Linked DNA regions of Homo sapiens: all the other regions are linked to region 1. The links are contacts of gene promoters, found by promoter capture Hi-C in blood cells and fetal thymus (Javierre and others, 2016). All regions are on one chromosome and are shown on one strand. The core of a region is centred on a gene start or on the middle of the fragment in contact, and the rest is flanking DNA. Distances in the headings are between cores, read along the strand shown.

Evidence for each region. The method cuts DNA at HindIII sites, captures the fragments that hold promoters and counts their contacts. A CHiCAGO score of 5 or more calls a contact.
Region 2: a fragment that was not itself captured here is called in contact with the fragment with the promoter of C1orf216 in region 1 in 1 of 17 cell types (M2 macrophages); the score reaches 5.4 in M2 macrophages.
Region 3: a contact is called between the fragment with the promoter of ZMYM4-AS1 here and the fragment with the promoter of C1orf216 in region 1, in 1 of 17 cell types (M2 macrophages). The highest score is 5.3, in M2 macrophages.
Region 4: a contact is called between a fragment that was not itself captured here and the fragment with the promoter of C1orf216 in region 1, in 1 of 17 cell types (endothelial precursors). The highest score is 5.3, in endothelial precursors.
Region 5: a contact is called between a fragment that was not itself captured here and the fragment with the promoter of C1orf216 in region 1, in 1 of 17 cell types (endothelial precursors). The highest score is 6.9, in endothelial precursors.
Region 6: a fragment that was not itself captured here is called in contact with the fragment with the promoter of C1orf216 in region 1 in 4 of 17 cell types (total CD8 T cells, naive CD4 T cells, fetal thymus and 1 more); the score reaches 7.6 in total CD8 T cells.

Annotation. Positions count from the first base shown.
Region 1 is chr1:35,715,897-35,720,869 of GRCh38, forward strand. It overlaps C1orf216 (chromosome 1 open reading frame 216), which reads right to left and starts at 2,988. Exons shown (of 2, transcript NM_152374.2): 1 at 2,811-2,988; 2 at 1-430. The coding sequence starts at 425. It also overlaps a transcript of CLSPN not described here. RefSeq lists silencers at 2,720-3,149, 4,812-4,973. The HindIII fragment of the contact is 2,001 bases long and covers 2,106-4,106 here.
Region 2 is chr1:35,261,554-35,266,526 of GRCh38, forward strand. No RefSeq gene overlaps it. Among named protein-coding and RNA genes, the nearest start is that of ZMYM4, 4.7 kb to the right of the region's middle. The HindIII fragment of the contact is 1,924 bases long and covers 1,881-3,804 here.
Region 3 is chr1:35,364,005-35,368,977 of GRCh38, forward strand. It overlaps ZMYM4-AS1 (ZMYM4 antisense RNA 1), which reads right to left and starts at 2,073. Exons shown (of 2, transcript NR_046659.1): 1 at 1,962-2,073. All of the region lies in intron 5 of ZMYM4 (zinc finger MYM-type containing 4), which reads left to right. The HindIII fragment of the contact is 9,120 bases long and covers 1,748-4,973 here.
Region 4 is chr1:35,411,163-35,416,135 of GRCh38, forward strand. It overlaps ZMYM4 (zinc finger MYM-type containing 4), which reads left to right. Exons shown (of 30, transcript NM_005095.3): 27 at 2,810-2,921; 28 at 4,304-4,552. Among named protein-coding and RNA genes, the nearest start is that of ZMYM4-AS1, 48 kb to the left of the region's middle. The HindIII fragment of the contact is 1,886 bases long and covers 1,544-3,429 here.
Region 5 is chr1:35,430,570-35,435,542 of GRCh38, forward strand. KIAA0319L (KIAA0319 like) reads right to left here. Exons shown (of 21, transcript NM_024874.5): 21 at 2,923-4,512. The coding sequence ends at 4,325. Among named protein-coding and RNA genes, the nearest start is that of ZMYM4-AS1, 67 kb to the left of the region's middle. The HindIII fragment of the contact is 3,493 bases long and covers 1,162-4,654 here.
Region 6 is chr1:35,455,056-35,460,028 of GRCh38, forward strand. KIAA0319L (KIAA0319 like) reads right to left here. Exons shown (of 21, transcript NM_024874.5): 10 at 958-1,186. Among named protein-coding and RNA genes, the nearest start is that of ZMYM4-AS1, 91 kb to the left of the region's middle. The HindIII fragment of the contact is 626 bases long and covers 1,911-2,536 here.

The DNA of each region.
Region 1 (4,973 bases), core at 1,738-4,237:
GGATCGGGAGGGCCAGGGCCTCGCGGGGTCCCACAGGCAGGCTCAGGACTGCTGCTACGGCTGTCAATGCTCAGGGAACTGCTGGCATAGCCGTTGTCCTCCAGAGGGGAGCAGACTGTGCCAGCACCACCCATCTTCTCAGGCTCAGCCCCGGGAATCTCTGCCCCCTCTGGGGGGCTGCGCACCCCTTCCTCAGGGGATCCAGGGGCCTGGAAGGCTTGGTTGTCAGAGGGTGACTCAGAGGAGCTCCTCCTCAGGATAGGTTCCACTCTGCCTGGCATCCCATGCCAATTCTCGTTAGCATCCTTGGCACTTGCCATGAAGTTGGAGTTGCTGTCTGGTTGGAGCTCGGGCTGACATAATCCAGGAGGTGGGTCCCCCAGGAATTGGCCCCCCTCAGCTAGCCCTGGCTGGATGGCGAACATCTAGCCTGTAAAGGGAAAGCAGGAGACCGAGTCACAGTAGGACAGGGTGGGGTGCCTGAAGTCAGGGCAACTTAGCTGCAGGGACAAGGCTGCAAGCAAGAGCCTGGCCACTCCCTGTCAAGCCCTTTCTCTTGACTCTGGTAACACTTCCCTTCGTGGTTTTCGTCCTCCCTGTCTACCTGTTCATTCTCAGTCTCCTGCAAAGGGTTTTTCCTCCGTCCTCAGAGCCAGGCTGTCTTCTGATTTTGTGCATTTCTCTCCAGAGGACCTCATTCTCTGCTGTAGCTTCAAAGACCATCATATGCTGGTGACTCTCAGATCTGTCTTCAGCCCAGATCCAACTGCTATCCAACCCTGCAACCAACCATAGTCTCCTCAAATTCTACATAACCAGTCCAGGCATGGTGGCTCATACCTGTAATCCCAGCACTTTGGGAGGCCGAGGCAGGCAGATCACCTGAGGTCAGGAGTTCGAGACTAGACTGGCCAACATGGTGAAACCCCATCTCTACTAAAAATACAAAAATTAGCCAGGCATGGTGACAGGCACCTGTAATCCCAGCTATTTGGGAGGCTGAGGCAGGGGAATCACTTGAACCCAGGAGGCAGAGGTTTCAGTGAGCCGAGATTGCGCCACTGCACTCCAGCCTGGGTGACAGAGTGACATCATCCCCCTCCACCACCGCCCCCCGCCAAAATTCTACATAACCAAACAAGCTCTCCTTCAGTATCCTCAGCAAGATGGCTCTGTACTCCATCCAGAAAGCTGAGAGCATCCTGGGGTCCTCACTATCCTTCCTTCTCCCATCTCATTAATAACCACATTCTGACCATTCTTCCTCTTCCAGGCCATTTCTGACCTGGATTATTGCCTCGGCCTTTTCACTGATCTCTCTGCCTCCAGTTAAAAATGTAAATTTCACTTGTCACCACTCCTAATGCCCTCCCTGAATTCCTGCTAAACCTCTACCTGGCCTACAACACCCTGTTTGATCTGGCCCCTGCTCACCCCTCCATACCTGCCTCTTGCCACTCTGCCCCTCCCATCATAGCAAACTGCCCAGAGATCTCAAAACACACCATTGTTTTTCTTACAGTATTCCTTTGGCCTACAATATCCTTCCTCTCCCCTCCCCTCAAAGCTCCTCCCTTCTCCACCCAGCAAATTCCTTTTTGTACTTCAAAATTAGCTGTAATATCCCCATGTTTCCATGTCCCCATGTCTCTGAAGCCGTCTTGATACTGCCCCAATCAATATTACATAAACAAGCACGGTTAGTTATGCCTTCCTCTGGGTCCCCACTGCGCTGGGTATACACTGTCTTATCCAACTTTGCATCCGTCCCTGGCATACATGGTCGACGATCAGTGAATGTCTATTCAACTGGCATTTTTGGTTTGTGGTAATGATCTTGTAATAGCAGTTTGTAATCTGGCTTGGACCTCCTGTATATATCCTCCATCATATTCCCCAGAGTCAGCCAGCATAGAGCCCTGAACCAGGCTGTCTGTGCATACAGGTACTTGCTAAGTGAGTGAATGGGAGAAGAGACTGCAGTGAATTTCCATGCTCAGGAATCCACTCTTGACTCCCCAGGGCTGGAAGAGCTGGGTTCTGGAAGAGCTGGGTTTGGTTCCCTTTCCTACCCCAGCCAGGGAGCCCCGCCTTCCCCAGTGACAAGCTTTTCTTCTGAGCCTGCCCCCTTCCCTCCCAATGCCTCTGGAACACAGCCACTATCTTGCGGTCCCCGTCCCTAGCTTGCTCCATTCTGAGGCCCTGGAGGGAGGGCATACCACACCACTCTTCTCTCCTCCATAACCTGCTTCTAACCAAAATTAGGATTTGAACTGACAAAGGGATTCTACTGACCAAACAGCACTGGGATTAGAACAATTGAAGAGCATGAAGAGGAAGGGTATTGTAAGTGGAGCCGGCACTGGAAGGCGCTCCATAGGTGGCATGGACCCTCCCCACCCCCAGCAATGGGCAGAGAAGTCCTGGGGAGAAGGGTGTAGGAACAGTTCGTTTCTAATCGCCCTCTAAGCAAGGCTTGTGGGAAGGTGCCTAGAGATCTCCCCTCGCCCCAATTTTTTATTTTTCCTATACTTGGATGGGGCCGTGAAGGAAGCTGGGATGGGGTGGGGGTGGCGCTAGGGATCACAGGGTTCTCAGAGATAGTAAAATGAGAACCCCGACACGCCAGGACTAGGTCTCCGCCCAAACAGGAGGCAGCCTCCTTTTCTGGCCTTGCGGGAGTGGGAGACCACCCCAGGAGACAGAGACCATCCTTCCCTAGTCTCCTCGAAGGAGGCCACTGTGACTCCCCGCTTCCCGCGGCTGAGCCCCAAGCCCCACCCCGCCTCGGGCCCCAGACTCGGACTCACGGCGTAGAGGCGCCCGCTCCGGCGCGTCTGGCTCTGGCTCCGCCCGGCCCTGGTGGTGTCTAGTCCCTGGGCTGGGGGTTCCTCGGCCTGGGCGTCTCCGCGGTCCAGGCGTGGGTGCGGGGCTCCCGGGCAGCGCGCCCAGCCCCAGTCCCGGACTGCGGAGTCAGGCGGCGTCTGCGCAGCAGGGCGGAGCGACCGGTCCCACGTGGGCCGGTTCGGTTTTCCGCGGAGCCCCGCGCCAGGCCCCTGCGCCGGAACCGCTTCGCCCCCGCGCGGGGCCGCGTTGACCCAGGCCTTCCAGGTCCGGTGCTCTCTCCTATTGGCATTCGCTGGGCCCTTCCCATCAGTTAGCCTCGCTGCAGACACCGTGCCATTTTCAAGTGAAATCTGATTAGTCACCACCTTCCGGCGTTAAACTCCTCAATGGCTTCCCCACCGCCGGGACAACCCCTAAGGCGGTAGCCGCGGGGCTCTGTGCGTCCTGCCCTTCGTCTGCCTCTCCGGCTTCGTCCTCTACCCTCCCTCTCCGCAGTTACCCTCCCACACGCCCCTTTCCGCCACGCGGCTTTGGCACGCACTGTTCCCTCGGTCTAGCATTCTCTTCCCCCTCTCGACTTACTCCTATTTCAGATCTCTTCTCGGAGAGATCTCTGACTCCCTAGATCACGTTCGTTCCCCCCTTTATGTCAGAGCACATTCCTTTTCTTCATAGCATTTATCACAATTTGGAATTATATATTCCTTTTTGTGCTTACTTGACTAAAGTCACTGAGGCCGGGTGCGGTGGCTCACGCCTGTAACCCCAGCACTTTGGGAGGCCGAGGCGGGCAGATAACCTGAGGTCAGGAGTTTGAGACCAGCCTGGCCAACATGGTGAAACCCCATCTCTACTAAAAATACAAAAATTAGCCGGGCTTGGTGGCGGGCGCCTGTAATCCCAGCTACTTGGGAGGCTGAGGCAGGAGAATCGCTTGAACCTGGGAGGTGGAGGTTGCAGTGAGCCAAGACTGCACCACTGCACTCCAGTCTGGGCAACAGAGTGGGACTCCGTCTCAAAAAAAAAAAAAAAAAAAAAAAAAAAAAGAGAGAGAGAGAAAGAAGATCCAAGCCTGGGACAGGGCTCAGGGCTGATGTCCTGTACCCGGGACGGGGGCTCTCCGCAGGACACAGAGCCCACCCATGATGCCTGTGAAGTGGGTACCAGTGCTTTTGCCCAGGTGAGGAGGAACAGCGTGATAAAAAAGGGTCTTGGGTTCCAAACTCCAGTGGATTCTTCTCAGAGCTCCACTCTACTGAAGCTTGACCCCCCTCACTCTTTTGCACCCTGGGGAAATGTGAAGTTGGGGGCCCTGTTTGGAATAAAAGAGAACAGAGTTCAGTAATTGCTGACCCTAATATATGAGGTGCCCTCTTCCAGTTTCAATTTGATTCCAAGTCACCATTCTGCAACCTAGAGACTAATTGGCAAATTAAATCACACCAAGAAATCCTATATGCAAAAACAGGGAAAATGGAAAAGAAATTTTTATGATTATGATGACTATTTTAAAAGGGAAAAGGAAATAAGAAGGAGAAGGCAGAAGTAATTCAAACTTTGCACACTCCTCCAGCTAAGAAAATACAGGTGGAGACGTCAGCCCCATTTCTACATCAGATCCTGTGGCCTAAGTCTTCTCCCTTCCCTTATCCACTTCAGGTTCCCCTGGCCTTCAGCCTGGGGTGACCCAAATCCTCACTTTTTTTTTTTTTTTTTTTTTTTTTGAGATGGAGTCTCGCTCTGTCGCCTAGGCTGGAGTGCAGTGGCGCAATCTCGGCTCACCGCAACCTCCACCTCCCGGGTTCAAGCGATTCTCCTGCCTCAGCCTCCTGAGTAGCTGGGATTACAGGTGCATGCATCACGTCAGCTAATTTTTGTATTTTTAGTAGAGATGGGGTTTCACCATGTTGGTCAGGTTGGTCTTGATCTCCTGACCTTGTGATCCACCCACCTCGGCCTCCCAAAGTGCTGGGATTACAGGCGTGAGCCACCATGCCTGGCCCAAATCCTCACTCCTAAAGGCTCTCAGCTTTGGTGATCTAGGGTTATGCAGTTCTGCCCAGACCACAGAGCCATAAAGTCATCAATTGTTTGTTCTGCCCAGAATAGCCCTTCTCCGCCTCTCT
Region 2 (4,973 bases), core at 1,593-4,092, 450 kb before region 1:
AACTCACCAGCATTAACTGTGCTCATCTTTCATCTTTTCTCTTTCTCTTTCTTTCTTTCTTTCTTTTTCTTTCTTTCCTTCTTCCTCCTCCTCTCTTCCTTCTCCTTCTTCTCCTTCTTCTCCTCCTCCTCCTTCTTCTCCTCCTCCTTCTTCCTCCTTCCTCCTCTTCTTCCTCTTCTCCTTCTTCCTCCTTTTTCTCCTTCTCCTTTTTTTTGGACAGGATCTCACTATTTGCCCAGGAGACTGGAGTGCACTGGCTATCCACAGGAACAATCATAGTTCACTACAGCCTCCCAAGAAGCTGGGACTACAAGCGCATGCTGCCACGCCCAGCTTCAATGTGCTCATCTTTAATATATCCTGGTTAGTACTGAATTGTATCTCATCCAGTAGAACTTGAAGAACAAGGTTTATAGAAGAAGTACACTGAATTTACTGGCTGGGCGCAGTGGCTCATGCCCAGCACTTTGGGAGGTAAAGGTGGGAGGACTGCTTGAGGCCAGGAGTTCAAGACCAGCTTGGACAACATAGAGAGACCCCATCTCTAAAAAATATTTTAAAAATTAGCCTGGAGTGGTGGTACAGGCCTGTAGCCCTAGCTACTTAGGATGCTGAGGTGGGAGGATCCCTTTAGCCCAAGAGTTTCAGGTTATAGTGAGCCATGATCACACCACCATACTCCAGTCTGGGCAACAGAACAAGACCCTGTCTCTAATATAAATAAATAAATAATCAATCAATGAACTGATATTTAGCTTCCTTTGCAGAAAAAAACAATAATTATGATAATTCTAAAGAATGCATGTCCGAGGGACTAAATACCAGATGGAGAACTGACTTCTAGAGTTGGATTTACCCCAGGATGCGTGATTTCTTTTTGACCTGCCTGGTTATCTACTTCCTGGCTCTTCTCTACTGTCTCAGCCTCATCTCCATGGTTTGTCTCAGCTTGGAGGGAGAGGTTTTGGAAGCCATGTCCTTTATTTTATTTTATTTATTTATTTATTTATTTATTTATTTATTTTTGAGATGGAGTTTTGCTCTTGTCGCCCAGGCTGGGGTGCAATGGTGCAATCTCAGTTCACTGCAACCTCTGTCTCCCAGGTTCAACCGATTCTCCTGCCTCAGCCTCCCGGGTTCAAGTAGCTGGGATTACAGATGCCTGCCACCATGCCCAGCTAATTTTTGTATTTTTAGTAGAGACAGGGTTTCACCATGTTGGCCAGGCTGGTCTCAAACTCCTGACCTCAGGTGATCCACCTGCCTCAGCCTCCCAAAGTGCTGGGATTACAGGCATGAGCCACCGCGCCTGGCCCATGTCATTTATTTGACCTTTCCAATGTATTTGGTCATGGTTTACTATTTTTAATGTGCATTAGTGATTCCCATCTTTTAAAAAAAGATTTCTTGGGCCACATTCCTCTCCAATAGCACTCTATCTCTCTAATCTTTTTCAAAGTGAAACTTCTTGAAAGAATTGTTCACATTCACTGTTTCTATGTCTTCATCTCTTATTCTCTCTTCCAGCCACTCCAATCATGCTTATGTTTAAACAAATCCACTGAAATAATTCTAGTCCAGATCACTAAAGATCTTTCAATCGTATCATCAATTCTTGGGCCTCATCTTACTTGTCCTCTCAGTGACATCTGAAAAATTAGTAATTGAGCCTCTCCCAAAACAGTCTTTATTTGGTTACTGAGACCACAAATTCTCCTGACTTTCCTGCTACTTGGCTGATTCTCTTTCTCTTCCTGAGCTGTAAATGTCGGGGTGCCTCCGGATTCATTTCAATATACGTGCTCTTGGTAACTCTATCAAGTCTATGGCTTATATCAATGACTCTCATATTTCTATCTCTAGCCCTGTTATCTCTCCTAAGCTTCAGATTTGAATATCTAACTGCTATTCGACATTTCCACTTGGATGTCTAGAGGCATCTCAAATTTATCATGTCCAAGACATCTTCCTTCTTTCTCTGCCCACTTTCTCACATCTGCTCTCTTTTTTTGCATTTCAAATAATGGGCAACAGCATTAACCTATCTATTCAGGCTAAAAAGCTAAGAATCATCCCTAAATCACTTTTTCTTTCACTCCCAGCACCCAATTCATTAGCAGCAATTCCATGGGCTACGCCTTCAAAATACATATATTCTGAATCTAATTTTTACTATCTCCAACGCCAATGCCCTAGGCTAAGTCATTGTTATCTCTTACCTGGACTGCCACAAAGCCTCGTAACTTACATCCACCCTTGCTCCTTTATGGCTTATTCTGCAATGCACATGGTATCCAGAGGGTTCACATCATTTTTTTTTTTTTCAAAGACTTCAATGGCTTTACATCATACACAGAAAATTACAAATCCTTACCATGGCATCCAAGGATCTTCATAATTTGTCTTTGTCTGCTTCTCTGACTTCATCTTCTGCCCCATCTCACTTGGTCCTAGTAACATCGGCACCTTGCTTTTCTTGAACACTTCAAGTTTGTTCCTGCCAAGGGGTTTTACACTTGCTGCTCCCTTTGACTGGAATGCTCTGACCCAGACATTTGCACAGATGGCTCTCAGTCATGAGGTCATGATTTAAGTTTCAGTTCAAATGTCACCTCCTAGCCAGGTGCGATGGCTCACAGCTGTAATCTCAGCACTTTGGGAGGCCGAGGTAGAAGAATCACTTGAGCCCAGGAGTTTGAGGCTCCAGTGAGCTATGAAGGTGACACTGCACTCCAGCCTGGATGACAGAGCAAGATCCTGCCTCTTTTTTTTTTTTTTTTTTTGATACAGCGTCTCACTTTGTCGCCCAGACTGGAGTGCAGTGGCACGATCTTGGCTCACTACAACCTCTGCCTCCTGGGTTCAAGCAATTCTCCTGCCTCAGCCTCCCGAGTAGCTGGGATTACAGGCATGTGCCACCATGCCCAGCTAATTTTTGTATTTTTAGTAGAGACAGGGTTTCACCATGTTGGCCAGGCTGGTCTGGAACTCCCGACTTCAAGTGATCCACCTGCCTCGGCTCCCAAAGTGCGGGGATTACAGGCATGACCCACCGTGCCCAGCCAAAACCCTGCCTCCAAAAGAAAAGAAAAAGAAAAACAAAGTCACCTCCTCGGAAAATATTCACTGACTAACATATCTAAAGTAGCCCCACTACAGTTATTTTTTATCCCACTTGTTTTACTTTCTTCCTAACATTTTCTGAATGGATCTACCTAAATGTCCAATGTAGTTTAAAACATATTTGAATCTAATGGTTAGAATTCTGTTAGTTAATAATTTCTTTTGGAAAGAAACACTGTATCTTTCCTGTGGCTGCCCTCTCCCTCTGAGTGAGTATCTAAAATAACGTCTGCATTTATGAGGCATTATGACTTTGGGGAAGCCTGAGACCTTGAATCTATTCGGAGTCCCTGACCTCTCAGGATGCTCTACAGCCTGTTGTTAAGAGAGTGGAATGTTTTGTAGCCTGGCCTCGCTAAGTTTGCTCAGAGCCTGAAGGCAAACCACACAGCTCTTCCTGAGGTCTGGCTGTTACTACTTTTTGTTCCTGGCCCAGTGTAATTTACAGAGCTACTTCCTCCTATACTTGCCAGCCAGCATTCTTGGCTACTTTCCGTATTCTTCTACAGGGTATGTGGGAACTTCTGGATATCTTCTCTCGCAGGAGCTAAGGACCACTCACTTGCAGAGCTCCGCCCAAAACCCTGTACCTAATTTTGTGTATGTAATTCTGTGTTCTTTTTCTTAAAAACAAAACAAAACAAACAAACAAAAAAACCCTCCCTCTCCCCCCATCATGTAAGCTTCAAGATCTGTAAAACCTGGATTCATCTCTGGCTGAGAGACACTCTGAGGAGCTAAATGCAGACCTGCTCTTTTTTCCCAACTACATCAGGGCATGACTTTTGCTCATATGTGGCTGTCTGCTTGTTGGTATGGGCATAGTCTGCAAGTCATCTCTACTTGGAATCTTAAACAGGAGCAGAGTAAGAATCCTCTCTGCCTTGAAGAGCTGGAATGGGAAGACAGGAGCACATGTCTCTCAATGATGCCTCTCTTACTTTTCTCTTTGTTCTTCTTCTCTCTACCCTTTTATTAAAAGAGTCAGACTTTTCTTTTATTTCCCTATATGCAGCCTCATGGCTTAGCTGTCCTGGATGGAAGGATATTTGGGTGGAAGGCATTTCCTGTGGAGTATGTAAAAACTCTATGAAATTATTATGTGCTGAGCTTCATAGATTAAATGGAACTAAGAAAATTTAGCAAATTCTTTTTCTCTCCATTCTGTTCTCTCCTGATTGGGAAAATAAGTCTCAAGGCTACATTTCAAGCAAGAGTCTATGACAGAAGATGACTTAAGAAAGTTAAAAGAAATCTGTTTGATATTTGCAAGATACTAGCCCCATTATAGTCTAGTTTTTTTTTTTTTTTTTTTTTGAAACAAGTCAGAGCACTGAACTTGTAGGTGAAATATCCCATTTAAAATGTTGATATATGATTTAACTTTTTTTTTTTAAAAAAAAGATAATGGCCGGGCGCGGTGGCTCACGCCTGTAATCCCAGCACTTTGGGAGGCCGAGGCAGGCGGATCACAAGGTCAGGGGATCAAGACCCTCCTGGCTAACACAGTGAAACCCAGTCTGTACTAAAAATACAAAAAGTTAGCCGGGCATGGTGGCGGGTGCCTGTAGTTCCAGCTACTCGGGAGGCTGAGGCAGAAGAATGGTGTGAACCCGGGAGGCGGAGCTTGCAGTGAGCCCAGATCGCGCCACTGCACTCTAGCTCGATGACAGAGTGAGACTCTGTCTCAAAAAATAATAATAATAATAATAATGATACTCATATGGTATTAGGAACCAACAGTGTTCTAGGAGATTTAGAGATGTTAACTAATTTAATCCTCTTGGTGTCCCATTTTACAGATAAGGAAAGTGAGGCACAGGACAATTACCTTGACCAAGATCATATAG
Region 3 (4,973 bases), core at 823-3,322, 350 kb before region 1:
CACTGAGAAGGTTATTAGTATTGTTGTTTTCAGAACAATCAGAGGTTCCAGTGGCTGGAGAATATAAATAGGATGGAACAGATAGAAACACTTAAATTTTTATATACTTATTCAGAATTATAAAATGTGTTATCAAATACTGAATATGAATATGAAGTTTCATCATGATTATGGGAAGAACTTCCCCAAAGGCTTACTCCCTGATTGATTGGACTTGAGAATTAAGCAGTAATGTGAGTAGGTCCTGGGCATAAGATCCAAAAGCATTCTTTACCCTGACCCCACAATAAGGGACTTGTAGTATGTGAGTGGATAGAGCTAGGTTTTCCCTGAGGAGTCCTTTTTGTTGTCAGCAATACCAGTCCTATAGGATCAGACCTTTGATAATTCTTCTAGAAATCCCCCAGAGCAGCTCTCATGTTATAAACTAGATATGTGATTCTTTCCTTCTTTTCTTTTTCTTGTCTTTTCCACACCCGTCTCCACCTTCCCTCCTTCTTTTAGAAGAGTATTGCCTTTCAAAATTGCATAATTTATTACTTTTATTCATTTCCCATGGACTGGAAAAGAGAACTCTAGTGTATTATATTATTAGTCTCAAAAAAGTACTATTAGCCTCTCATAAAATACTGATAGATTTTACAGTTGTGGTCAGTGTTTACTTTTGACCATCAGTTACCAGTAACTTCTTTCATGGTTCAATAAAATCATAGCTTTAGTTTATGGCACCTTTTCAAAACTTCCTTTGGCTTTTCTTTGTGCTTAATTTAGGTAGTTTTGCTTTTAGCTCACTTCCTAATTCTCTTTTTTACACAATTCATTTTGGTCCTAATTTCTTTACTTTACTATATAAACAAGGTGCTGAAATGTGTGTGTATGTATTTAACTTCCTCTACCCATTTGCTCTTGGTTATTTCTTCAGTTATGATATTCTGGATTTGCCAGTCATTGTCCGTCCTCCTGCCTCTATTACTGGCATAATGTCATTGGGTCTCACAGTTTCATTTCTTCATTCTAATTCTATTGCATGTTTCTATAATGTTTTCTGTAGTATTTTTACAGTTACAGATGCTTTTACACGTACTGTGTTGCTTAATTCGCCTAACAACCCTGTATAAGATGGCCAGAGTAGAGGATGTTAACATTTATAGGTGAGAGAGCTGAGAGATATAGAGATTTAGTTACTCAAGCCCTCATGGCCAGGAAGGAGCCAATCTGGGGTCATAATCAAAGTCTTTTTTTTTTTTTTTTTTTTTTTTAGTCTACCAATCTTTCTGTAAATAAAAGTTGTTTAATTTTAAAAATACCAAGGGAAGGTTTCAAAATAGATACTTTAAAGAGAGCCAGAGACCTCATTTTCCTCTTTTGCCTTTTCCATAGGGTCTAAAAACTGTACATTCAGTAAATACTACATTAAAGTCATGATTTCTTTTTCTTCTTGTTCATAATAATAGAGGACGAGCTAATGTGTAGTCTCTCATTGAAAGAACTCAATTAAAATGGGAAAGCAAATGAACTAATTGTCATAATAGTCATTCACACAGTTTTGGAAAGAAAATGTAGTAATTCAAATGTTGGGGCTCTTTTAGCCATATTGAGTTAATTTGGCAATAGAAACTGTGTTATTCATTTCTAAAATACTTTCATGGGATATTAATATTGATCTTCATTTGTAGTAAACTAAGAAGGTAAAGGTATTGGTAAAGGAATTTTTTTGTGTTTTGGCATGTGTTTTTCTGCTTCTGAAAGCTTTTGGGTTACCAATTAGATATTTACTTCTCAGAAAATATTTATTAGTATTTGGCTACTCATTGATTTGTTTATCAAATACTTGTAAAATTAGTGATCATGGGAGGATCCAAACATAAACCAAACATGATTGTGCCTTGAAGGCATTGTGGACCATACAAACAGTACTTAAGATGTATACTATTTTACTATATTACATAAATAATACGTACTCAAGGCTAAAGGAATCCAGCAGAAGTTTGCAATAGCCATCACAGAGACTAAGAGAGCTGACTGCAGACCGTTAATGTATGCCAATGAGTATTGGTTGTTTCTGGAGTTTTCTGAGATTAAAATAAAAATATTTAAGGAAATTTTCTTTAATACACTATATAATGAAGGAATGTCATGATTAGTCGATGTTAGAAAATCTTTTAATACATATATTTCATCAGCAGGTCAAATAAGGGTATCTGTAATAGTCACTTTATTAGATGCCAAAAGACATCTCATGTAATTCAGACATTTCTTAGAATAGATTTTTTCTTGATCATAGTAAGGAACTACTACTTCAGATCAGTAACAGTTATTGAAGTTGAAGTAAAATGATGGAAATCTTCTGTTAATATTACTAAAAGAATACAAGTTGCGGATGTCATCGTTATTATTTAACTCTTGTTGGATTTTTACTTCAATCCATGTTAAAGAAATTAGAAGAAAAAATAATGGAAAAAGGGAAATAAAATTATCACTTGCTATTAAGAATATTTATGAAAGAATTAATAGAATTCATGAAAATTTAGTGGAGTACCTAGTTGAATTATACCAATACTTCTATAAATAAACTTCCCAGTTAGATGATATAATGAAAAAGATACACTATTCCCAGCAGCAACTAAAAAGTACTTATATCAAATACAACTTGAAATAATGAAGAGACCATCTTTTTAAATGTAAGAAATATGTAGATGTCAGTTATTTTTAAATTAAGATTTAAGGCCAGGTGCGGTGGCTCACGCCTGTAATCCTAACACTTTGGGAGGCCAAGCGGGGGGCGAATCACTTGAGGTCAGGAGTTCAAGACCAGCCTGGCCAACATGGTGAAACCCTGTCTCTACTAAAAAATACAAAAATTACAGAAATTAGCCGGGCGTGGTGGTGCATGCCTGTAATCACAGCTACTCGGGAGACTGAGACAGGAGGATCACTCGAGCCTGGGAGGTGGAGGTTGCAGTGAGCCAAGATCGCACCATCGTGCCCCAGCTTGTGGGATAAGAGTGAAACTCCATCTCAAAAAAAAAAAAAAAAATTGAGATTTAGATTTGATGCAATTCTGATGAAAATATCAATGGTTAGGTTATGAAGTTTTGTAGAAGAATAATAGGCATGCACATACACACACTTATTACACATATATTCTAAAAAATGGATGGAGAGGTTGAATGTGGCAAATGCTGTTAAATGGTTGAACATCATACAATTAATTAATTTTTTTTTTTTTTAAAAGACAGAGTTTCACTCTTGTTGCTCAGGCTGGAGTGCAATGGTGCAATATTGGCTCGCTGCAACCTCTGCCCTCCCACCACCCTGGGTTCAAGCGATTCTCCTGCCTCAGCCTCCTGAGTAGCTGGGATTACAGGCGTGCACCACCACACCCCGCTGATTTCTGTAATTTTAGTAGAGACAGGGTTTCACCATGTTGGCCAGGCTGGTCTCAGACTCCTAACCTCAGGTGATCCACCCACCTCGGCCTCCCAAGGTGATTGGATTACAGGTGTGAGCCACCACGTCTGGCCATAAGTATCCTACAATTAGTTTCGTTAGGATAGCATGATATCATAAGATTAGTCAGACTGAAAATGATATAGAAGAGATAGCCCAAAAACAGACATTATTTTTTAAGAATTTGATATATTTATCAATGGCAAATGAAAGGAATTCACTATTTAGAGAAAGATAAAGAGGTGGGCATGGTGGCTTATGCCTGTAATCCCAGCACTTTGGGAGGTTGAGGCGGGTAGATACTTGAGGTCAGGAGTTCAAGACCAGCCTGGCCAACATGTTGAAACCCCATCTCTACTAAAAATACAAAAATTAGCCGGGTGTGGTGGCAGGCACCTGTAATCTCAGCTACTGGGGAGGCTGAGGCAGGAGAATCACTTGAACGCAGGAGGCAGAGGTTGCAGTGAGCCGAGGTTGAGCTAGCCTGGGTGACAGAGTGAAACTCTGTCTCAAAAAAGAAAAATGTTCATTATACATCAAAATGAGTAAATTCCAAATGGACTAAGGCAGGGGTTGGCAAATTATCAGTGGTGGGCCAAATCCAGCGCCCCCCCCCCACCCATTTTTTTTGTTTTTCCACCCACTGCTTTCATAAATAAAGTTTTATTTGAACATTGCCACATTCATTCATTTACATATTATGTGGGTGCTTTTGCTCCACCAGAGCAGAGTTGAGTAGTTGGGACAGAGACCATATGGCCTGCAAAGTCAAAAATATTTGCTATCTGGTCCCTTACAGATAAAGTTTGCTGATCCCTGGAGTAAATGAATGTATTATTATAAAAATGAAACTATTTTCTTATTCTTTTAATGTGGAAATAAAACTTTGTAAGAGATAGAAGAAATCACAAAGGTAAAGACTGTCAGATTTTTTTGGCACAAAAATGGAAACAAATATATAAAATTTTAACTTAACGTACATATTGAGGAAATGTTGATAACAAATGCTACTGAGAGTTAATAGTGTTCCATTATAATGTACTTTTTGTAAATGAACATTAAAAATAGCTGCAAATTGAAACAAAGTGGGAAAATACTTTTAAATGGTGTTTTTTTCATAAATTACTGGAGTAAATATAATTAAGAACATTTTTTGGGGAGGAAAACAACCTGTCATTATGTATCAAGAACCTTTACTATGTACCTTTTTACCTAGTAGTTCCACTTCAGGAATTCTTTTCTTAGGAGATAATCCTAAATATGGGAGTATGAATATTCACAGAGATATTCATCGTGGCATTACTGATTGTACTGAATATGCGGAAACATTAAATGGACCAACATTGTGTTGTGGTTATAAAATCTTGGTGCCATTGGAGCCGGAGGCAGAAGGAAAAAATCAGTAATACTGATTTGGTATTTATTTAAAAATTTGATATTTTGCTCTTCATGGACCTTGCATAAATTTGATTTTTAAAAATACTGTGTTAAAATATTATCTTCATTACTGAGGTTTTTGGTGC
Region 4 (4,973 bases), core at 1,237-3,736, 310 kb before region 1:
AGTTATAATCCATTTTTCTTTTTTCTTTTTTTTTTTTTTTTGAGATGGAGTCTTGATCTTGGCTCACTGCAAGCTCCGCCTCCCGGGTTCACGCCATTCTCCTGCCTCAGCCTCCCGAGTAGCTGGGATTACAGGCGCCCGCCACTATGCCCGGCTAATTTTTTTTGTATTTTTAGTAGAGATAGGGTTTCACTGTGTTAGCCAGGATGGTCTCGATCTCATGACCTTGTGATCCGCCTGCCTCGGCCTCCCAAAGTGCTGGGATTACAGGCGTGAGCCACTGTGCCCGGCCCTAATCCATTTTTCTATAGATGGCTATTTTTAGGGCAGTACACAGTTTTGCAACTTACATTATAGCTTTGTATTAAGTTTTGAAATCAGGAAATGTGGTTCCTCAAAATTCTTTGGGCTCTTCAAGGTCCTTTGAAATTCTATGTCAATTTTAGAATGGGTTTTTCCATTTCTGCAGAAAAAGGTCATTGGATTTTGATATGATTGCAGTGAATCTATAAATTGATTTGGAGAATATTGCCATTTTAACATCATTAAATCTTCTGATCTGTGACTACAGGATGTCTTTCTGTTTATTTAGTTGTTCTTTAATTTTTGCTTTCAGCAGTTTTTTGTGGTTTTAAGTGTGTAAGTCTTACAACATTTTGGTTACATTTCTTCTCAAGTATTTTATTCTTTTTGATGCTTTGGTAAACATGGGACTTTTGTTTGTTTGTTTGTTTTTTTGAGACGGAGTCTCACTCTGTCGCCCAGGCTGGAGTGCAGTGGCACAATCTCAGCTCACTGCAAGCTCCGCCTCCTGGGTTCAACGCCATTCTCCTGCCTCAGCCTCCGAAGTAGCTGGGACTACAGGCGCCCGCCACCGCGCCCAGCTAATTTTTTTTTTTTTTGTATTTTTAGTAGAGACAGGGTTTCACCGTGGTCTCGATCTCCTGACCTTGTGATCCGCCCGCCTTAGCCTCCCAAAGTGCTGGGATTACAGGCATGAGCCACCGCACCTGGCGGGACTTTCTTAATTTCCTGTTTGGATTGTTCATTGCTAGCTTGAAATACAGCTGATTTTTGTGTATTGCTTATATGCTGCAACTTGGCTGGATTCACTTATTAGCTCTAATAATTCATTTTTCTGTGTATTCTCTAAGATTTTCTATATATAGGATTCTGTCACCTGCAACTAGAGATAATTTTACTTCTTCCTTTCCTATTTGAATGCGTTATATTTATTTTTCTTGCCTGGCTGCTCTGCTAGGATTCGCGGTACAGTGTTGACGAAGAATGGCAAGGATAGGCATTCTTGTCTTGTTCCTGGTTAAGGGGGAAGAGACTTTTTTTAAACATGTATGTTGCGTTATATGTACTGATATATTTCTGTAACTGTACAAAACTCACTTCTGCATAATGGAATTTCTTAAAGATTGGAAATATTTTTGCATATGAATAGTAGTTGACTTTGTGTGATGAGTTTGAATGAGTTTGAATAGTCTACTTTTTCTTTATTTTGAACTTTTTCAATAACGAAGATATATTTTTAAGCTTGAAAGTGACTATATTAAAAGAAGAAAAAGAGGAATACTGTTGAACAACAAACTGTAATCTGCCAATAAGTTCATAAATTGCCTTTGAGGAGGCCTCATAAAAATGCCTATTGAAGTGGTAATTTTTGTTAGCCAGAATAAATTTAAATGGAAATAATTTTCTCCAAATCATACATAGAAATGCAAGAAACCAAGATAGCCACAGAAATATAAATTAAAAATACTAAACCTTAAAAACACCAAAATACTTTTATCACGTAATTACATGCTGCCTTGGATTCCGTTACTACTCATGGTGTGTCCCTGTCTCAATTGATTTTATCTGACCTGCGCCGTCAGTACTTTTTAAAAGAGACAGGGTCTTGCTCTGTTACCCAGGCTGAAGTGCAGTGATATGATCATAGCTTGCTGCAGTCTCAAACTCCCAGGTTCAAACAACCCTCCTGCCTCAGACTCCCAAGCAGTTAGGACTACAGGCATGCACCACCACCCCTGGCTATTTGTTTTTAAATTTTTTGTAGAGATGGGTCTCACTGTGTTGCCCAGGTTAGTCTTGCACTATTGACCTCAAGTGATCCTCTCACCTTGGCCTCCCAAAGCACTGGGATTACCATTCCTGGCTCAATACATTTTTAAACTATAGGTATTCTTTTTGTTCTAGCCTATGATATGGTTGTTAATGGTTATAATTAACATAGTTCAATGTCCTATAATTAGACTTGAACTTTTTTGAGGGCTAGGTTGTGGGGCAGAGTTGAGAGCTGTAGTTAGAAGGCTCCAAATAAATAGTTTTTAAATTTGGGTTTCCTCAGGTCAACTGACATTAGCTAACTGTGTGATTGCAAGAAATGATCTTGTATCTAGGGTAAAAAACAAAAGAGCACATCTGCAGATACACATTATGAATCAGGAAAAACATGATTTGGAACGTGTGCATTGGAACCAAGTTTTAGTATGTCAGTTTTAGGAACTAAGTAAAGGGTTCTTCATAATACTTCTTCTGTACCATCCGTGTTTGAAAACGAAGTACAAAAACTTTACCTTGCAAGGTCAGTGCTGAAGATAATGTGTTAATAAGAACAGGAGCTTTAGCTTGAATTCTAGTGTTTTAACAACTATCTCTAAGGTACTGAGAGGTTAAACATGGTTTATAATATTGTAAGGGCAAAAATTAAGGGTAAACTGTATTTCTTACAATAATTTTTTAAGAACTCATGTTTTCTTTTTATCAACATGTATATTTTCTTTTTTTTTTCTTGTAGTACCTGTTTGAAAATGGTAGAATAGATAACATTTTTACTGAGCCCTATTCCAGATTTATGATTGAACTTACCAAACTCTTGAAAATATGGGAACCTACAATACTTCCTAATGGTAGGGTGATTTTTTTTTTATTGTTTTCATGATATGCTTTCTTAAATTGCTTAACTTTTTTGGTTATCTTTAAAAAAATTGTTCATTTTTATTTCTGTCCAGATTTATACCATATTTGGACTTCTGAGGAGACGGTCTTTGGTTTATTGTTGATTGTTTTAGGAAAACTGTACAAGTCATATAGCACATGTATAGATACTGATTGCAGAAAATATAAACTAATTTGAAGTTACATTTACCTTTTTAGAAACCATTTTTGATCTGGTAGCATTGGTGTAGCTTTCACATATCATATCTGCTAACAGTGGACCTTTTTTGGTAGTTTGTATGTATACTGAACTGTTGTTAAGAGAGTTAAGTCCTCGTCCTTGAATTATCTTTGACCAGATGTCATCAGACAAGTCCATAATTCACTCCAGGTCTCAGGCTGAGGTGAATGAAGAGGTTCAATGTTATGCTTAGTAATATATGCACCTTTCTGTTGGGCTGCAGAGCACCTTTAACAGTAAGCTTAATGATCTCCAACAGGAGTTTGCAAACTATGGTCCATGGGCCAAATCTGGCCTGCTCCCTGTTTTGCAATCTATGAGCTAAAAATTGTTTTTACATTTTTAAATAGTTGGGGAAATTTTTTTAAGAATTCCTATTTCATCATGTGAAAATTATATTAAATTCATGGCTGGGTGTGGTGGCTCACACCTGTGGTCCCAGGTGTGACTTTGGAAGGCTGAGGCAGGAGGATCACTTGAGCCCAGGAGTTCAAGATCAGCCTGGGCAACAAGGTGAAACTCTGTCTCTACAAAAAATAAAAAAAATTAGCTGGGCATGGTGGTGGTGCCTTGTAGTCCCAGCTACTCAGGAGGATGAGGTGGGAGAAGCACCTGAGCCCAGGAGTTTGAGGCTGCAGTGAGCCCTGATCGTGCCACTGCACTCCAGCCTGGGTGACAGAGTAAGACCCTGTCTCAAAAAAAAGAAAAGAAAATTATATGACTATAAATAAATTTTACTGGCATATAGCTCTGCCTGTTTATGTGTTCTCTACAGCTCCTTAGTTTCTACAGCAACAGCGTTGTTCAGAGCCTATATGGCCTACACATCCCAAAATATTTACTTTCTGGCCCTTTATAAAGACAGCTTAACCCCTAATCTAAAATATCAATAGATTAAAACGGTTTCAGGAGACTCCACGAACGGTGTCTACTTGAGTGGAATCATCTGCCTTTTTCTTTGTGGTGCGTTTTCTGGTTTTCTGCATAAGGAAGAGGGGAAAGAGGAATAGTCAGTTTTTCTCTTTATATCTCCCTGTCTTAGAATTTGAGAGATTACTTAGTCTACTTTAGCAGGAGCTCAGTACTGTTTCTTGTACCCCTTCTTCTGTCTAGGTTACATGTTCTCTCGCATTGAGGAAGAGCATTTGTGGGAGTGCAAACAGCTGGGCGCTTACTCACCAATCGTCCTTTTAAACACCCTCCTTTTCTTCAATACCAAATACTTCCAACTAAAGAATGTTACTGAGCACTTGAAGCTTTCCTTTGCCCATGTGATGAGACGGACCAGGACTCTGAAGTACAGTACCAAGATGACATATCTGAGGTTCTTCCCACCTTTACAGAAGCAGGAGTCAGAACCAGGTACGGGATACTGTTTGTCAGATTTCTCTTTGAAGTCTTAGTAGTAGTACTAAAATAGAGAGTTACTGCAGAAAGGTAATTATAAATGCTAGACGTGAAAGAGTGTACCTTTAACATTTGAATATTTTTCTCTATTGTCAGAGAGTGGTCAAAGGCTGGCCTCAAAGTGAGAGGAATCACGTGCTTCAATATACTTTCATTGGCTTTTAAATTAGAAATTTTGATTTAATTGGGCAGAGCTCAAATAGCCTGCATTTTAAAACTTCTCAGGAAATTAAAAAATACAAACAGGGTTGAGAATCACTAATTTACTAGCCCCAGATGAGTCAATCACTAGTTAAACGAAACCTGCAGAACTTTTAGTCCATTGTTTCTAAATCTTTTTTTGACCAGAGCCCCTCTTTTTAGTTAACATTGTGAA
Region 5 (4,973 bases), core at 1,658-4,157, 290 kb before region 1:
TTTCATGCTGATTTTTTTTCCCTCCCTTCCTGCTGATGGGTTGGTTGAAATCTTTTAATTTTTTTCTTTCCTTGTCTGGTTTAGATGTTCTACATTCTAGTTCTGAATTTTCAGTGGCTTTCTCAATGTTTTTAAGATGAATGCCTGACTTTCTCAAATGAGTATTTCTACCATCGTCCTATGGAAAGACTAGGTTACAGTCATCACCCCATCCCCATCTTATATGTTACAGTTCAGTATTTTCATTCCATCTCTTTATTCTCTCCCCAAGTAGCACTCCCTGGGAACTTCCTAGGCCAGGTTCCATTGGAGGATTTGTGTGGGAGAAACCAGCAGCGACCAGATCTGCCATCTCCCTCCCCGCCTTAACTGGCGTTTTCCTTTGAGAAACCACCTCTGTCACATCCCTGGGCTGGTCAGATTGTGTCCCCCTCCTGTGCTCCTGGAACCTCTCCGCATGCCTATGTTGATGTTTGTCAGGCTCTGTGTTCATCATGGGCACACTTCAAAGGGCATCCCAGTTCCTGTGGTGGAGACTAGGGATAGGATGATGGGTAAGTTGACATTGGTGGTTTTGAAATGCTGAAGTTTATATTGCTTTCCCAAATAAGAGTATGGTATTTGGTATTTCCAAAGAGTACCATGTTTAAAAGTGCCTCGTGCTTTTAAGAGAGATAGCTTGGGATTTCTGAGATAAGATAGGAATAAAGTGGTGTGCACTGGTCGCTCCTGAAAACAGCCATGTTTATGGTTTCTGTGGTTTCTCTACTGCTGTCCCTTAATCACTGATGGAACATACAGATTATGGGTAGCAAGACAGGAACTGTTTTCATCTGACGCTATTGAAACTCGTGTGTTTGTTTTATTTCTACGTAACAGAATCAGAATGAGAAACTTCTGAGGCATTTACTCCCAGATCATGTAGCTCACGTAAGATGTTTTAATATCTGTGCTGTGTTAGAGGTAAGAGTGTTGCAAAACAGAAGTTATGGGTCTAGCCTCATGAACTTGCAAGCGGGTTGGGGACAAAAGGCTGAGTGCTGCACCGTGGCTGAAAGCATAGAAATTGTCAACAGCCCCCATATAGAGCCCCAGGTTTCAGAGGGGGAGGATTCTAGGCTCCTAGGATCCACTTGAAGACAGGGGCATTACCTGGGGAAAAGCTTCAACTGCTCCAACAGGATGGCACTTTCTCTCTTTTAATGCTTTATTTAACCAACTAATAAATGCCAAGAAAAATCATGATTGGCCTGCAATCCCAGCACTTTGGGAGGCCGGGTGGGTGAATCACCTGAGGTCAGGAGCTCAAGACCAGCCTGGCCAACATGGTGAAACCCCATCTCTACTAAAAATGCAAAAATTAGCCGGGCGTGGTGGTGCATGCCTGTAATCCCAGCTACTGGGGAGGCTGAGGTAGGAGAACTGCTTGAATACAGGAGGCGGAGCTTGCAGTTATCACGCCACTGCACTCCAGCCTGGGCAACAGAGCAAGACTCTGTCTCAAAAAAAGAAGAAAAATCATGATTGCCAGTGTTCCCAGGATTCAGCTCCCCATTTAAGAGCAAAATTCCAACTAAAATATATATATGTATATATATCCTTCAGTGGGTTGTAGCTGAGGGTAAACAAGATGGAGAAAAGAGGCCCAGAGGAAAAGGGAAGCCTCCCTTTTTTACTACAAAGCTAGTAAGTGGTCGGGTCCTGCGGTTCCTTCCCAAATCCTTTGAAGCTATTCCCGATGCACCAACCTCACCAAGGCCTTATCGCCTCCCATCCAGCTATTCTGTGCAGTCTGGCCTGTACCCAGCTCCACTGTTCTGTTGCCCGAGCTGCCAATGGCTTCCACTGTGTGCGGGCCAACTTGTTTTTCATCTGGCCACTCTCTGGAGTGCCCTCCGCTCCACAGAGCCTGTCTGCTGTGGCTGTGTTTGGGCTGCAACACTGCCCCCGACCTCCACCCGTCAACTGAGCAAACCTGTGCCCTTAGCTTGGAGGACACTCCTTGGCAGATTCGAGACCTCCCTTTACTAAACTTACTTCTTTCACCCTCACTCAGGATGGGACATGTGCTGGTTCCTATTCATGCGGCATTGACTGTGCTTCTAGGCCAGAGGTTCTAAAGGGAGGCCCAGGACCAGCGCATCAGCATCTCCTGGGAACCTGTTAGAAAGGCAAATTCTTATGTCCTCCCCCTTCCCCAGACCTACTGAATTAGAAACCCAGCAACCTGTCTGAAGAAGCCTCTCGTCTTGAGGTTGGAGACTGCTGCAGAGCGAGCAAGGCTCTGCCGGGCCTGAGTTCTCCTCTGTCACCATGTGTGTAGATTAAGTTACTTCATCTCACTATGCCTTGGCTCTCGATCTGTAAAAACAGCCACTGCTGCCCTCCTGCAGCAGGGTTTTGTGCCCAGGGCCCTGGAGGGAGCATGAGCTCAGTGGTCCTTCCGTCCTCCCTGTCTTGGGAGTGCTAGGCTGTGCACCAGCCCTCCCAAGCCACATACCCAGCAAAGTGCTCTGTGAACTAGGTACAGTCAACACATTTGGGGGCATGTGGCCAACCTCTACTATTTGGGAACACCAAAGGGAAGATGAGTGGTCAAAATTTCTAAAGCCACACCCTGGACTTTAGGACACTCTGTGTCTCCCCAGCTTGGTCACAGGTGGACATGATCATTTTTGTGTTAACAAAAGATATGGGAAGAAGGGACATCAACCCTCCTCCCTTAAAGCCAGCAGGGGTACTGGGGTGGTGCACTCCCACCCACCAGTGGCAGGCAGGGCCCAGCACCACTGCTTGCATGTGCTGATGCCAGGCCCAAAACTTCCTTGCCAGAGGACACGACCTCACAGGGCTGCCCAGGGGGTGGGAGCTGTGCACGGGTCCGAGACGTAGCGTGAAGCAGCACACCCAGCAGACAGAGTGCACAGTTAAATACCATGTTTAATCATCCCACAATGGACAGTAGTGCAGTAGTAGAAATTATAAGTGTCTCTTTAAAAAGTCACTCCCCCAAAGTTTCCATTCCCCAATACCCAGATAACCATGGTGGAACAGGGCCAGGGTGAGGGGGACTCAGGAAGTCTTGGTTCCAAGGAGATGAAAGTCTTTCCAAGTCAAATTTGCCTTGTGAGCAGCCAAGAGCCCAATGAGTTGATGCATACGCGCTCACTCTAACACGCACACATGCAAGGGACACAGAACACATACAGATGGAGGGACAGAGAGGGGACCACAGCGGGGCCATCGCACACATGCGCTCTCATGCCACAACATTCCAGTCCATCTGGGGCTATCTCCTCTGGGGACAGGGAGCGGTGGCCTAAGCCCCGAAGCAGCAGGTGCCGGTCAGATGGAGAGGAGGGAGGCCGTCTGTCCAGCCTGGCTGCTCTGACAAGGGCCCTGGCAGCGAGAGAGGCCACCCGCCATCCCTGACACAGTCAATCCTCCCTAATCTCGGGCCGGATGGGAGAAGGGAGTGGGGCTCCAGTGTTAAGGGGGGGCCAGATATCATTTCTTTTTTTTTTTTTTTTTTTTTGACGGAGTCTTGCTCTGTCACTCAGGCTGGAGTGCAGTGGCACGATCTTGGCTCACTGCAGCCTCCACCTCCCAGGTTTAAGCAATTCTCCTGCCTCAGCCTCCCGAGTAGCTGGGATTACAGGCATACGCCACCAAACCCGGCTAATTTTTTTTTTTATTTTTAGTAGAGATGGGGTTTCACCGTGTTAGCCAGGGTGGTCTTGATCTCCTGACCTCATGATCCGCCCGCCTCGGCCTCCCAAAGTGCTGGGATTACAGGCGTGAGCCACCGCGCCCGGCCATCATTTCTATGCTACCATCTCAGCATCTGTGGTGAGGGGAGGGGTGCCACTTCCTCTTTGCCCAGCGAGAGGGCGTACTCTACCCCAGAGAGGGAAACACCATGCCCACAGTGCTTGGTTTTGCACTCAGGTGTGCGGGCAGCACAGCAGGCCTCACCTTGCAGCACTCTGGGCACAATGACACTGTCCACTGGGGAGCTGCAGAGCTTAGCAGCTGGCTGGGTCTGCCCTCGGGGGAGGGGAGGAGTTTGCAAAAAAAGGAGGCCCTGAGGTGAGGATATCTGGGGGCCCACCAGACAGGTTTAAAGAGGAAACCTCTTCATTCACAGCTTCGTTGAGGGGTTCCTGGAGGACGTCTCTGGATTCAAGTCCCAGGGGTTCTGGTTGGGACTGTCAGGGCGAAATGACCAGCAGATGCTGGGACAGCAGCTGCCCGCAGACTCGGGAGGTAGGAGGACTGGCCGGGCAGTGTGCTGGGCCCTGCCCTGAGGAGACAGACCAGGTGGCTACAGGATCTCCTCCCGCGGGCTCCTGGCCTTCAGAGGGGTCTGCCCGTTGGGTACAGAGCCATTCTGACCATGCAGGAGTTTGCCCTTCTCTCGGTCTGGCCATGTAAAGATGGCATCATCGCTGTCCAGCTCTGACTCGGAGTGCATCAGGCTGCTACTTAGCAAAAGGCCTTTCTGTTTGATGCCTGCAGGGAAAACAAGGAATCCAGCATCAGGAGACTGGCCTCAAGGCTGGAGCCACCCCCACACCTTACCCCAGCCTGAGGAGCCAAGGAACAGGGCAAGTCACAGGCTCCTCTCCAGGCTGGGAGGTGCAGATGGGAAGGAAGCTTCCCTAGTCCTTCTCCCGGGCCCAACTGGTTGGAACAGTCCACTAAGGGGTGTCACAGAGTACGGATGAGAGCACACCTGGGGTCTCCTGCTGGTTCTTCATCTCCAGTATCCATGAGCTTTGGTTCAGGCCACTCAGTGACATTCTCTTTTCTTTACCTTTCAAATTTGGAATATTTTATCACCTCCCTCTATGGGTGGAATGACATGGTAGGCAGGAAAGCACAAAGAACTCAGGCTCTGGAGAATGAGCTTTTAGCTGCACCCTAGGTCAGCAAGGCCGCTGAGTGCTGGCACAGCAGGAGTGTGCAGTTTC
Region 6 (4,973 bases), core at 974-3,473, 260 kb before region 1:
ATCTTGAGGGACATTATAAATAATTTTGGGCAAACTTCCAATGCAGGAACTTCCTGTAGAGCAGTAGGCAAAAACTAGTAGCCCATGGGCTGAATCCAGCTTGCAAATATTTTTTTTGGCCTGTGGTGTCTCTCATATTGGAAATTTTCACATAAAGGTCTCAATTTCTTTCTTCTCTTGAAAAGCTGGGTTATCAAGCAATGTTAGGACCATCCTTCCATGTGGCAACAACCAGCTGGACCTGAAGAGTAGATGACTCCTTTAGTCAGGGCTTAAGTTCAGCACAGCCACCATCCAGTTTTCTTTCTTTATGTTACCTGCCTGGTGACAGATCTAGTCTCTCTTCTTAAGCATCTCTAGAGAGAAGATACTCACCATCTAGCCAATCTACTCTAACTTGTTATAGAGCTCACTAAGATTTGCACCCTTGTAGCTTCTAAATAGTTTGACTCTCTGGAGTCATCCAGAACAACTAACATTTCTCAGCCTTTTCCTCTAATACTAAACATTTAAGATAATTTTTTTTTTTTTTTTTTTTTTTTTGAGATGGAGTCTTGCTCTGTCACCCAGGCTGGAGTGCAATGGCGTGATCTCGGCTCACTGCAACCTCCGCCTCCTAGGTTCAAGGGATTCTCCTGCCTCAGCCTCCCAAGTAGCTGGGATTACAGGCGCACGCCACTACGCCCGGCTAATTTTTTTATCTTTAGTAGAGACGGGGTTTCACAATGTTGGCCAGGCTGGTCTCGAACTCCTGACCTCATGATCCGCCCGCCTCAGCTTCCCAAAGTGCTGGGATTACAGGCGTGAGCCACCATACCCGGCCAAGATAAAGATTTTTGCTACCACGTTAATCAAAGGCCCCTAAAGCTTTCTCAGTTTGTTTGGAGGTTTCTAAAAATGCAGTCCAGCAGCTCTACTTCTCTTGGGCAAGAAAAAATAGGAACCATTCCCTCCTACCTGCATCTCCACCACTTTCCCTTTGCTGCTTGGGCTGAGTGACCACTCATAGCTGGTGATGCCATGATCATCAGTGCTCTGGTTCCCAAAGAGGGTGATGGAGTTTTGGGGCAGGGTGATCACTTGGTTGGGGCCTGCGTTGGCCACAGGGGGGTAATCCACAGCTTTGTTCACTGTCAGGTTTGCAGTAGTAGAGTTGGTAGCTCCATCAGAGTCTACTACAGTCAAGCTATCAGGGCAGAGAGAGGAGTGTGATCAGGGACGGGTTTAAGGAAAGAGGAATAAACACTAGAAGACTGAAAATTAAGGCTAAGAAATACCAATGTGGCAAGGTTACCTATTCTTACCCACTTCTATTGGAGAAGCAGAAAGTACTACTAGAAGCTAACACTGACTGAAGTTTTATGATGTGCTAGGCACTGCTCCAAGTTCTTTATATCTCATTAAATCCTCACAACAATTCTATAAAGTATCATCCTCATTTTACTCCTCACATATATGAGGAGAAAGACAGAGAGGCCAGGTGCGTTGGCACACACCTGTAATCCCAGCACTTTGGGAGGCCAAGGCGTGCGGATCACCTGAGGTTGGAAGTTTGAGACCAGCCTGGCCAACATGGTGAAACCCCATCTCTACTAAAAATACAAAAATTAGCCAGGCATGGTGGTGCAGGCCTATAATCCAGCTACTTGGGAGGCTGAGGCAAGAGAATTTCTTGAACCCGGGAGGCGGACGTTGCAGTGAGCTGTGATTGCACCACTGCACTCCAGCCTGGGAGACAGAGGGAAACTTCATTTAAAAAAAAAAAGAAAAAGGAAGGAAGGAAGGAAGGAGAGATGGAGGGAAGGAGGAAGGGAGGGAAGGAAGGAGGGAGGGAGGGAGGGAGGGAAAGAAGGAAGGAATGAAGGAAGGAAGGAAGGAAGGAAGGAAGGAAGGAAGGAAGGAAGGAAGCAAGCTTGCCCAAGGTCATACAGCTTGAAAGCAGTGGAGTCAGGTTCTGATCCAGGCAATATGTCTCCAGCGCCATTTTGTCCTGCTGCTGCCTGCACGCATCTGTGTCCTGAGGTCTCTATAAGAATTGTCTGATATGGCCCTCATAACAACCATATAGAGTAGGCATCATTGATTCCAGTTTTATAAGAGGCTTAGAGAGGCTAAGTAACCCACCCAAGGGCTATATAGTGAGCCAAGATGCAAGCATAGTTCTCTGATTCCAAAGCTCAGAAACCAAATCTTAAGAAGAGGTAATTCTTAGTCCCTATTCCCGATTCCCTACGCTATGTAGTGCAAGCTCCGTCTGCAGCAGGCTGTTTTCCCATCATCCTGTTCCAGCTGTTTACACATCACAACGATGGACATCCTAGGCAGACAGCCTGCGGGACGAACCAGGAGGGCTGGCTCCAGTAAGGCAGGAGCTTGAGATGAAAATGAATTCTCCTACGCAACAGTCCCACAATTTGTGCCAGTGAGACACAGGATTTGCAAAAAAAAAAAAAAAGAAAGAAAGAAAATAAAAAAAAATGTTCATTTATAAGAGCAGGCTTTTACCTAAATGATGCCTTCCAGCTGAACAGCCTAAAGCTTCTCATGCCACCTCAAAATGTGAGCATAAGCAAGCAAGGAGGTTTGGGATCTTTCCATTTTGCTGACAGAAAGAGGAAAAGCATAGAAAAGACATGTAGTTTGTTTAAATCTCACCACCAGCCACAGACAGGGCCAGACGTCAGTGAGGTTTTATCCTGCAGTCTCACCTTTTACCTATGGTGTGAAGGGGATTTTTGGTATTACAGCCTTTAGGAAAAAAGCACAAAAACCTCAGACACACAAACATGTACCAATCAGCAGATATCTGAAAAACAAAAATTTACAGAAGTTTTGCCTCTTTTCCTAGTTTCTCTGTTGTTTTCACAGGTTTGGGTTTTTTTGTTTTGTTTTTTTTCTGAGACGGAGTCTCGCTCTGTCGCCCAGGCTGGAGTGCAGTGGTGCGATCTCGGCTCACTGCAAGCTCCGCCTACTGGGTTCACGCCATTCTCCTGCCTCAGCCTCCTGAGTAGCTGGGACTACAGCTACCTGCCACCATGCTCAGCTAATTTTTTTGTATTTTTAGTAGAGACGGGGTTTCACCTTGTTAGCCAGGCTGGTCTCGATCTCCTGACCTCATGATCCACCCGCCTCAGCCTCCCAAAGTGATGGGATTACAGGCATGAGCCACTGCGCCCAGCCTGTTTTTTGTTTTTAACATATGCCATTTGTCTCCTATGTCAGGACAAAAGCACCTTATAGACAGACGGCAAAATGGCAGCTGCCCATTTTCTCTTTCACCTCAAACAGTCCCTGGCTTGCCTGCAAAGATCCTGAAACCAAACAGCAGCTGACTATAGGGCTGAGGAAAAAGGCTACTGCCATGTAAAAGAGAGAGGAAAAGGTGAGTGAATTACAACCTTAATGCTAATCAAATCAAATCATATCATTTCATAGATTTTTTTTAAAATGAAGGTTAGGAAAAAAAAATCACTCTCATACCCCATCCACTAAAAAACCTGTAGGTTAACCTTGTGGTTAAAAGCTTAGACTCTAGAGTTAGACTGTGTGACCTTGGGCAAGTTACTTAAACTCTTTGTGCCAAAATTTCCTAATCTGTAAAATGAGGATAACCATAATACCTGTTATAAGAATTAAATGCAATACTGCCAGCAAAGAGCTCAGAATAGTATTTAGCACATAGTAAATGTTCAAGAAATATCAGCTATCATTGTTACTATGTTTTAAAAGGATCAACCTGGCCCAAGCTGAATTCTGTAAATAGAAAAATTCCGACATTAGAAATCTAAGGTGAAAACCAGCTCAAATGTCCATTTTAAGCGACGTAGAAGGCTCCAATCTTGTTGTACTGGCAGCTACTTTTCATTCACCTGAAGTGTTGAATCAATGGAAATCCTGCTAAGTCAGAAGTTGCATATTGATTTATATGGTAGGTATTGTGCTAGGATACTCATTTCTGTGTCTCTGGCACCATCTAAAATTTGGTTAATCTCAGATTCATGGGAAGACAGATAGACATGGATAAACTGTCACACTATGGTAAATGCCACATAGAGGCCCTGAGTGCAATAGGGAAAGAGGAGAGCCATATTCTCTCCTGTCTGGAGGGATCTCAGAGAACCTCATGGAAATTGAGGAGGTTCTTAAGGATGGGCAAAACTTGAACAGATTGAGAAGGGAATTAAAGGAAGTATGAACAAAATACATGGATCAAGTCAAGGAGTGAAGTGGAATGAACCCTGACTTCAGGATTAGAAAATCTGCATTTAGGGCCAGGCACGGTGGCTCACACCTGTAATCCCAGAACTTTGGGAGGCTGAGGCGGGTGGATCACAAGGTCAGGAGATCAAGACCATCCTGGCTAACACGGTCTCTACTAAAAATACAAAAAAATTAGCCGGGCGTGGTGGTGGGTGCCTGTAGTCCCAGCTACTCGGGAGGCTGAGGCAGGAGAACGGCATGAATCCGGGAGGCAGAGCTTGCAGTGAGCCGAAATCACGCCACTGCACCCCAGCCTGGGCGACAGAGCAAGACTCTGTCTCAAAAAAAAAAAAAGAAAATGTGCATTTAAGTTCCAGCTGTGAGACTTCAGAGAAGCCTCATTTTTCTTAGCTGTCAAATGAAGATAGTATCATCTATATATCATGTTTGTATGATACTCATATATTAATACAAGTGCTTTTTAACATACAAGGAATTACGCAAACATAAGGAGGATTACTCTAGAGTCAGCTTCAAAGCTTTAGTAATCACTCTAGAATATCAATACTAGCTCCCCAAATGTACTTTCTTTGAATCAAATTCCCCAAAAGCCCCAGCAGAGAATGAAAACCACTAGTCAAACATAAAGATTATGAGGTACGTAAGCTGAGGAAGCATTTTCCAAAGGGAAGAAAAAAATGAGAGTAGGTCTTTCAGATTTTGCCTGAGAAGAGGCAAAGGAAGATGGGCCTTTTCATTTAACAACAGAAATC